Regions from separate parts of the Homo sapiens genome. Here region 2 is linked to region 1. Evidence: promoter capture Hi-C in human tissues and cell types (Jung and others, 2019). All regions are on one chromosome and are shown on one strand. The core of a region is centred on a gene start or on the middle of the fragment in contact, and the rest is flanking DNA. Distances in the headings are between cores, read along the strand shown.

Region 1 (4,991 bases), core at 362-2,861:
GCTACTCGGAAAGCTGAGGCAGGAGAATCGCTTGAACCCAGGAGTCAGAGGTTGCAGTGAGCAGAGATCACGCCACTGCACTCCAACCTGGGCGACAGAGCGAGACTCCACCTCAAAACAAAATAAACAAAATACTAGATCTGGAAGAGATCTTAGGGATTATTAAATTCAGACAACCTCATTTTTTATAGATGGGGAAACAAGCACAGACTCCAAGGGTCTCATCCAAGATCACACAGTTGCAGATGCTGGCTACAAGTCTCCTGCCTCAACCACCTGTATTACCCCATTCAGGGTCTCAAGAAGGGTCTATAAGACACTATCCATTGTGTTTCGGGCTGAGTCCATAGAGACAACCACAGACATGGGGGACTCTGCCCACAGGGAAGGCAAGGGCTCTGGCCATGGAGCTGGATGGGAAGACTCTGAAGCCCGAAGACATTGAATCCTGTGCAGGGAAAGAGCGAGGGTTTTGTGTACAACACACCTGCATACCTGGATGTGAATCTCAGCTCCACCCCTTCACCAACTCTGTGTGGCCTGGGCAAGCCATTCTAAGGGAACCCTCCACACTGCAACTTTCATGTCTATAAAATGGGAATAACCATGCATTCCTTACAGGACTTTTTTGGTGTGAGGATTAAATGAGAGAATATGTTGAAAAGTGCTTGGTAAATATATTAATACTATGCATTCCCTCTTCTTTGAATGACGTGACCCAGGTAGTCAGGCTTCTGACCACTAGAGGGCAGCAGAAGGTACTGGAAAACTGGGCCGAGTGAACCAGAGATTAGATGGGGTCCAGAGAGCAGGGATGAACTTACCCGTGTGGATTCTGGCAACTCCGGCAGGGAGGGCTCCAGCAGGCGCTGAGGGAAGAACTTTCAAGCAGAGCCGGGTCTCTTCAGGAGCGACTGCAGCAACCCTGATGCTTGGATGGAGTCCAGGCAGGTGATGGTAGTGAAGACCTTGCCAACAGAGTGGGCGCTGGAGAAGGAGCCCTTTAGTGGGGACCCTGGGGCCACGACTAGGCTGGCAGGCCCAGCCAGCACCAATTAATCCATGAGTATTGCCCAGCATTGAGCCTGGAGCACCTTCCAGCCCCTGGCCAGAGTCCTGGGTGTTCTGGGAAAAACCCCTAAACCTAGTAACTCCTCTCCCTACTAGGCCTCTTTGTTGCTGAATCTCTGGAATTTAGGGGCCAGCAGCTTTCTGACTCAGGTCAGCCAGGGGTTCATGTTCCCTCACTTGCCCTCCCCCTGCCTGGCCCATCTCTGGCCTGGCCCCTGGGAGGAATTTCCTGGGCCAGAGGGCAGCCGAAAGCACAGATGCCCACCCCAGCAACGTTCCCGCCACCTGCCCAGGCCAGTGCCCCGTGCCCAACCCCAGAGGGTGCGGGATGACAGACTCTGACAATCATTAAACCAGCCGGGCCTGATTTCCCAGCACTGCCTGCTAAGATCCGGGCCAAGTGGCACTGAATATGCAAATCACCTGGGGCCAGGAGCCCAGTCTAAAGGCCAGGAAATCCCCTCCATCCAATGAGACACCAGCTCAGGTTACTGCAGGGGACACACTATAAAGCCCTGAGCTCAGGGAGGAGCTCCCTCCAGGCTCTATTTAGAGCCGGGTAGGGGAGCGCAGCGGCCAGATACCTCAGCGCTACCTGGCGGAACTGGATTTCTCTCCCGCCTGCCGGCCTGCCTGCCACAGCCGGACTCCGCCACTCCGGTAGGATTCCCCGCCTGTCATTCCCTAGCCCAGCTCTTGGGAAACTGCAGAGGGGTCCAGAGGATTTGCAGTTCTGAACCTGCACACTCCAGTCTAGGATCTCCGAGCAAGAGCGTAGGTGTCCTGAGGGTCAAAGAACAGAGAGAGATTGTCTCTGGGAAGGCAGAATGGCCATGACGCCGCTAGTCTGGCTCCAGGGCCCCAGAGATCTGAGGAGGGAAGCCCAGCTGGAGGCTCCTGTGGTCCTGCCCTGGTCTGAGATCTTGGAGCCCTTCTTGAAGAGACGGTGTCCGCAGAGTTGCTGATCTTCCTGCCCCTGGGGGCTACTCTTGCCCAGGGTTGGGCAAAGCAGAGTAGCTGGGAGTGTAAGGAGAGGACCCTCGTCCCCTCACCAACCTCATCCTCTCTCCCCCTACCCACAGGTAGCCTCATGGCTGCAACCTGTGAGATTAGCAACATTTTTAGCAACTACTTCAGTGCGATGTACAGCTCGGAGGACTCCACCCTGGCCTCTGTTCCCCCTGCTGCCACCTTTGGGGCCGATGACTTGGTACTGACCCTGAGCAACCCCCAGATGTCATTGGAGGGTACAGGTGGGTCTCAGCGGGGTGGGATGGGGCACGGAGTGGGAGACAGATCCATCTAAGGGCCTGTTAGACAAATGGGGGAATAGGCAGGGAGGAGGGTCTCTAGGCAAATTCCAGGGCTAGAGGCTGAGACTTAGTGACTGAGGTGCTGGGGGTTGTGGGGCTGTGACAGGCAGAGGGAGGTGTCAGATACCAGGACAAGGGTGTTGTGAATGCTACCTCCTGCCCCTACTCTTGGGATGGCTCCAAGGGCTGAGGTGTGAATCCCCAGTGTGCTCCAGGAATGGGGCTGTGTGGGCTGGGAGTGGTGGCTCACGCCTGTAATCCCAGCACTTTGGGAGGCTGAGCTGAGCGGATCACCTGAGGTCAAGAGTTCGAGACCAGCCTAGCCAACATGGTGAAACCCCGTCTCTACTAAAAATACAAAAAAAAATTTATCCCAGCGTGGTGGTGGGCACCTATAATCCCAGCTACTGGGGAGGCTGACGCAGGAGTATCGCTTGAACCTGGGAGGTGGAGGTTGCTGTGAGCCGAGATTGTGCCATTGCACCCCAGCCTAGGTGACAGGAGTGAGACTCCATCTCAAAAAAAAAAAAAAAAATGGGGCTGTAAGGTCTGCTGGGTGGCCTGAGCTGAGCCTGTTTCCCTGCCTGGCCCTTGCAGAGAAGGCCAGCTGGTTGGGGGAACAGCCCCAGTTCTGGTCGAAGACGCAGGTTCTGGACTGGATCAGCTACCAAGTGGAGAAGAACAAGTACGACGCAAGCGCCATTGACTTCTCACGATGTGACATGGATGGCGCCACCCTCTGCAATTGTGCCCTTGAGGAGCTGCGTCTGGTCTTTGGGCCTCTGGGGGACCAACTCCATGCCCAGCTGCGAGACCTCAGTGAGTCCAGGCCCCTGGAGGCTGGGGAGCAGCTCCACATGTTGAGCTGAGTCGAGTTCAGTGTGGCCGTAGGCAGGCCCTGGAGCTCTGGGCCAGCTGCACAGCCAGAGAGAGCCCTTGAGGGAGGGATTAGGGGAGTGTGACCCTTCCTTCCTTCCTTGTCAGCTTCCAGCTCTTCTGATGAGCTCAGTTGGATCATTGAGCTGCTGGAGAAGGATGGCATGGCCTTCCAGGAGGCCCTAGACCCAGGGCCCTTTGGTGAGAACCCGTTTTCTCCTTCCTTCCCCAGCCTGTCTTGTCCCATCCCTGCCCCTCCACAGAGTGCTAGAGATGACCCCCTCCCCAGACTTCTTCCTCCCTCAATTAGAAAAATTGCAGCAGGTCATCAGACCCATGGGCAGCATCACCTGTCCTGGTCTGGTCCCCTGAGCCCTCTCTGAGTTCTCACCTCCTCTTCCCAGACCAGGGCAGCCCCTTTGCCCAGGAGCTGCTGGACGACGGTCAGCAAGCCAGCCCCTACCACCCCGGCAGCTGTGGCGCAGGAGCCCCCTCCCCTGGCAGCTCTGACGTCTCCACCGCAGGTGAGAGCTCTCTCTGGGCCACAACCTCCCTTCCCCGAAGTGTCCCTTGTTCCCTCTGGCTCCCAGCACCATAACTCAGGCCTTCTGGCAGGAACAGGAACAGGCTGGGAAGTGTGTCCTGAGAGCCAGCAGCGTGGTTGAGCAGAGGGTGGGCCGGCAGGGGACTTACTCTGACCCCGCCCCCCAGGGACTGGTGCTTCTCGGAGCTCCCACTCCTCAGACTCCGGTGGAAGTGACGTGGACCTGGATCCCACTGATGGCAAGCTCTTCCCCAGCGGTGAGTCGAGGGAGGTCCCCAAGAGGGCGTCCCATTTAGCAATGCACAGGGGGCCCGGCTCTTCCTGCAGCCTTTTCCTGTAGAGGGGCTACTCTCCCTAACTCCCCTCTTGCCCCTCCTTGACCTTCCACCACCGTCCCCACAGATGGTTTTCGTGACTGCAAGAAGGGGGATCCCAAGCACGGGAAGCGGAAACGAGGCCGGCCCCGAAAGCTGAGCAAAGAGTACTGGGACTGTCTCGAGGGCAAGAAGAGCAAGCACGGTGAGCTCCGGGGGCACGTGGGTCCTCCCTGCGCCGGGCTGAGCGGCTTCCTGGGGCACTGCGGGTTGTTGCAGGTATCCCTTCTCCCGTTTTCTCTGGCCTCCGCATGGCCTTTGGTAAGGCTGTGCACAAGCTGGGGGCTCTATGGTATCGGTCACCACCTAATTGCAGAGCCTGGCTTGGTGGTCCTGGAGAGGAGGAGGAAATAAGGCTCCCAGTGGGAGGCTCATGGTACCAGAGTCCTGTCCACTGACTCCAGTGTCCTGTCCACTGACTCCAGTTCTCTCTGCACTTGGCCACTGTCCTGCCCTCTGGGACACCCTCAATGTGAGGAGGCAGCTGGTGGGTCTTAGGTGGGCTGAGGAGAAAAGCAGTCACTGCAGTACCCGCACAGAGGGCACTGCGGGGTCTCTGGAGAGGCTTGCTGCATGCTGTGGCCAAGTCAGCAGTGCACTGGGGCGGGCAGGGCTGGCTGGCCTTGGGTGAGAGGGGACACCTGGATGGCAAACTGATGGAGGCTGGCCTTGCAGCGCCCAGAGGCACCCACCTGTGGGAGTTCATCCGGGACATCCTCATCCACCCGGAGCTCAACGAGGGCCTCATGAAGTGGGAGAATCGGCATGAAGGCGTCTTCAAGTTCCTGCGCTCCGAGGCTGTGGCCCAACTAT
Region 2 (4,539 bases), core at 1,872-4,371, 190 kb before region 1:
TGGCTGGAGCCCAGAAAAAGAAGCATGTGGTTTAAAAAATGTTTAAATCAATCTGTAAAAGGTAAAAATGAAAAACAAAAACAAGCAAACAAACAAAAAACAATGGAAAAGATGAAGCTGGAGAGAGAGGAACCAGTTGCCAAGGTAGAGAGCTGCCCGCTCCTGCCCTCTGGATGACATAGGGGACATCAACAAGACGGCTGCCAACCTGAGAAGTCACCAAACCACAAAAATAACCTTACAGCCTTCAGGGAAAGACTACCAGCTCTGTCTTTCTACCCTCTAATTTAACAATGCATAAGAGTCAATAAACCCTACTTTTTTATTTTTGGTTTTTATTTTGTTTTCATTTTTTTCTCCCATTTGCCTATTTATTTTTTTGTTTCCCTTTTTTTTTTCTTTTTCCGTTTTTCCATTTCCTCACATGTCCACGAGATGCTTGGGTTGCTTTTCCAGGGGCTAGTTTGGCTTTTCCAAGTGGGTTTTCTTTGGAGAATCTGATGCCATGCAATTGGCATGACACCTGCCATGCCACTATCTTTGGCATCCATGGGGCTTATATGAGACATGAAGCATTGGCTCAGAAGTAGAGGGAGAAGAGGAACCCAGTTCCCTTGACTTCCCTTTTGAGAGCACACGTTCTGCTGGGTAGCTCAATTGCCAGCCTCTGTCATGAGAAGGTATAGCCCCATCTTGATAGAAGAGTTACTCCGAGCTTTATCATGGACCAGAGGAAAACCAGAAAACTGAAAACATTCCTCTGTCTTGTGGCCAGTTTGGCCTTTCACTGCACTATTCTGATGGTGCCTGACTGAATCCAAATATCCTAGCTGGCTCTTACTATTTTTCACAAATGAGTATTCACATATAAGAGATGAACATCCATGTGAGATCATCCCAATCAGAATATAAGACTCAAGGAGTTTGACTTGGTGGCCAATACCTGCCTTCCAAAGAGATCCTACCTTTGCAGATTTGCTCCTTTCCCATTGCCTTGAAGGTCTGGCAATCCCTGTTCTTTCATTTGACAAGTACTTACTGAGTACTCACTATATACAAATCATTAGGTTAAAACAGACACACACACACACACACACACACACACACACACACACACACACACAAGACCTGGGCCCTTAAGTTTACAGTCCAGCAGGAAATGTTAACCTCCATTCAGCTACGCCCCCTTGTTATCTAGACCTTCGGGATCATCTAAGAAATGTAGCTGAAACCCAAGGAGCCAGCTAGAAAGAAGCTTTTGATTAGATGTACAATACATTGGGGGCAGAAGATCTGGGATCAATTAAGATGGAGCCTGAAGGACTATGGAATCTTGCTTGTCAGGAATGGGCAAGTCTACTTCCTGCCATTTCTGAAAGCCCCGCGGGACCAGCTTCTAGGCTGAGCTGCCTAGTAGGCTGAAGCTTCAGGACTCTGCAGGTCAAGGATATGTGATGAGCACCGGCCTAAGTGTTTGCTCTTCAGATTCCTAAGTAGCACAAGACTTTATCAGAATCTATAGGCATACCAACCTGGATCACTCTTCCACCCAACCGAGGAGTAGATGCATCTGAATCTTCATATCGGTATATTAAGTCCAAAAGATGGTCCGGGCTGCCCCTCACAAAAGCTTCTGCATCCACGTGGTAAGCTCCCATGGATGACAGGGTTCTGTATGATGGAGACTATTATTGCTATTGCTGCTAATTCCATGAGCTGTGAAGATCCCTAACCAACTCAGCTGTAACATATGCAATTCTGTGGTGGGAAGAGGCTGTGTGTCCAAGGATGGTGCTGAAATCACTGCCTTAAGGTCTCTGCTGTGCAGAATGAGGAGGCCCCCGAGCTGGCTGTTCTAACTTAGAAGGAAGAGAAGACTGGATGGGCCTGCTTGGGATCTAGGCCTCTTCTAAACCCTATCCTAAGCTCCAGTTCCATGGCAAGGCTCAGACTTTTAATGCCATCTTAATCTGATGGTTGAGCGCTTCACTCTATTTTCTGGTGCTGCCCAGCCAGTGCCTTCTGCCATGGATGTTACTGGCTACTTGAGAAAAAGGAGAGGGGAGAACCCCTTCTTTCATTCCAACTGCCTCCGACCCCAAAGGGATTCTTGGCTCTCTGGTAACCATGGATACCACCATGAATTTTATTTGGATCCTCAGCAGGTTGATTCTGGAGGCCTCATGCTATGACTTTTTATTTCTCTTCCTGGGATCCACCACCCTCTACTCTCAGCTGACTGCTGCATTTAGGCCAGGTCTCCAATTGCTTTCCTCCAGAAAGTGTGTTCCCGTCTAGTGAGGTAGTATTGAAGCCTCGGCTTTCCCTCTGGAGCCTGGGACCCTGTTTACAGTTGCACATCTGGGCCCCTCACTGTGGGGATTGATCATTCTCATGAAGGAATCACAGTTATATGGCAACTGCAGAAGGCTGAGCCTCCTCATGGTGCTATAACCCCTTGGGACACTCATCCAGACTTCTCTGAAGCAGAAAACCTGAGCTCCCCACTCACTGCCCTAGAATTTATGGCAAGGAGCAAATCTACAGCATTCTCTCCCACCTACGTCCTGCTTCTTGGTTGAGACTACTGGGATCCTTCAGAAAAGAAACACTGGGTCCCATAGCTAAATTCTCAACCGCCAGGCACCTTCAGAAGAATCCAGCCTAATACTGGAATTTGTGCTATTATCTTCCTCTCCAGCCCCCCAACTCCATCCCTCACCACAGTTGTCTAGGAAATGACATGAATTCAATATCTAATGTCAACCAATGGGGAGAGCCACAACTCCAGGAGAGGTTCCTGAGCTGAGTCCCTTAATTTCTGGATGAAGAAGACCAACAAGTTTTGTCCAATGTATTTGTTTCTCAGACCTTGCCTAGGCACTAAAAATAAAATACTAGGTCATTGGAGGCTAATGTGGGACCTGATGTCTGCGTGTGTGTGTGTGTGTGTGTGTGTGTGTGTCTCCCTCTCTCACACACACAAGAGCAGTTTGCTGTTGCTGTTTCCTACCTTCTGAGGCTTCAAAGTATTTTTTAAAATCTATGCTTTGTGGCAGCTCTACGGTGCTTATCTCTGTCTTTGTGTCAATCCTTAAGTACCCATGTCTTTTTCATGTCTAACCATTGGGAAGGTAGAGGCTGGCAGGGAAGACAAATCTGCTACAAGTCCATGGGAAGACCCTACAATGAAATGTTCATTGGTTGGTATACTGTTTTAGTCTTGAATTGCCAACTTTCCAACTGATCTATCCATATTCCTTAAGTACTAAAGACAAAATAGAGGGCTTCTTTTTCTCTCTTAATGTCTTGCCTTCTGGTTTTCCTGGTTTGCAAGACTAAGTGTACCTAATCTCACCATCTCTTCACTTCTAGCTCTCTGAAACAAGGGTCACACTACTCAGAGGGATAACCCCTTACAGTGGTCTGAGGAGTAACTATTTCCTAAAGTATTCTAAAAGAGTAGGAAGAGAGAAATGGTAGCCTGCTGCTTCTCACAGACACCTCACATCCTCACTTGGGATGGCATCCACATAGAAACCCTGCATTTAGGTAAAATTTGCCTGACTGAAGGGGACTCAGTCCTCCAAATCAAGGTCAAGAAGATATCTGCATGAGACCTTAAGAACTCTTTATTGCCATTATTTGGAGAGGGCGGGGGAATTGTCCTAATCACACATTTAACACAGGGAATAAGTGCTGAAGTGACCCAGATCACCAAGCGCAGTTCCTCATCATACTTTATTTTTGCTTTCCTTATTCCTTGGCACTGACTAAGCTAAAGTTAAGAAGCCGACTTCATAAGCCAACCCCTGTGATGGGATGGAAAAATGGGCTTTTGCAGAGGGTTTATTAATAGAGATGGATATACTACTCACAAGTTCTGGCTCATGGCTCCACTGAGAAGGCCATAGTAATAAAATGATCTTATGAACACTGTTCCCCAAAGGCCAAAGCCTGAAGATATTGCCCCTTATAATCCAATCAGCCTTATATTTTAATAAGTCCTGAATCAACCTGACTACGGATATATGGGGCCACCAGGGTGCATGGGTGCATGTCTGCTCAGCCTAGCCCTGGAAGTGAGCACTGCCGGCCACAGATCCTGGGAAAGGTGGTAGTAACCCAGAAGATGTAGCCTTGAAGGGAGGATACCTATCAAAATGCCAAAGCTGCAGGGACACGAAGACGGTTGAAAATTCAACCTGTGTATACTAGATCCTTCCAGTTTGATGGTTTGGTCATTCTTCTTCATGATTATACCATGGAGAATTTTCTGTGACAAGGGTGGTCATGGAAGTAAGTGAGTGATCCCCTGGTTTCTCATTCCTTAAAGCAGTGGTTCGCAAAGTATGGCACAAGACCAGCAGCATCAGCAGCCTTTGGGAACTTGTTAGAAACGAAAATTCTCAATCCCATCCCAGATCTGCTGAATCAGAAACTCTAATGAGAGGACCCGGCAATCCACGTTTTAATAAGCCCTCCTGGTGATTCTGATGCACACTAAATTCAACTGTTTTAAAGGGAAAGCCCTTTATA

The links. Contacts are between HindIII fragments. The study calls those that stand out against the background at their distance.
Region 2: a fragment that was not itself captured here is called in contact with the fragment with the promoter of ELF3 in region 1 in 2 of the 25 tissues and cell types used here (IMR-90 fibroblasts and adrenal gland).

Annotation. Positions count from the first base shown.
Region 1 is chr1:202,008,976-202,013,966 of GRCh38, forward strand. ELF3 (E74 like ETS transcription factor 3) reads left to right here and starts at 1,612. Exons shown (of 9, transcript NM_004433.5): 1 at 1,612-1,731; 2 at 2,154-2,324; 3 at 2,982-3,203; 4 at 3,369-3,461; 5 at 3,665-3,784; 6 at 3,972-4,061; 7 at 4,207-4,323; 8 at 4,854-4,991. The coding sequence starts at 2,162. ELF3-AS1 (ELF3 antisense RNA 1) reads right to left here and starts at 1,378. Exons shown (of 2, transcript NR_146472.1): 1 at 825-1,378. RefSeq lists enhancers at 1,578-2,511, 2,512-3,446, 4,256-4,991. The HindIII fragment of the contact is 15,952 bases long and covers 1-4,991 here.
Region 2 is chr1:201,820,429-201,824,967 of GRCh38, forward strand. NAV1 (neuron navigator 1) reads left to right here. Exons shown (of 34, transcript NM_001389617.1): 34 at 1-4,539. The region is part of intron 1 of IPO9-AS1 (IPO9 antisense RNA 1); the gene reads right to left. Among named protein-coding and RNA genes, the nearest start is that of IPO9, 6.5 kb to the right of the region's middle. The HindIII fragment of the contact is 6,508 bases long and covers 1-4,539 here.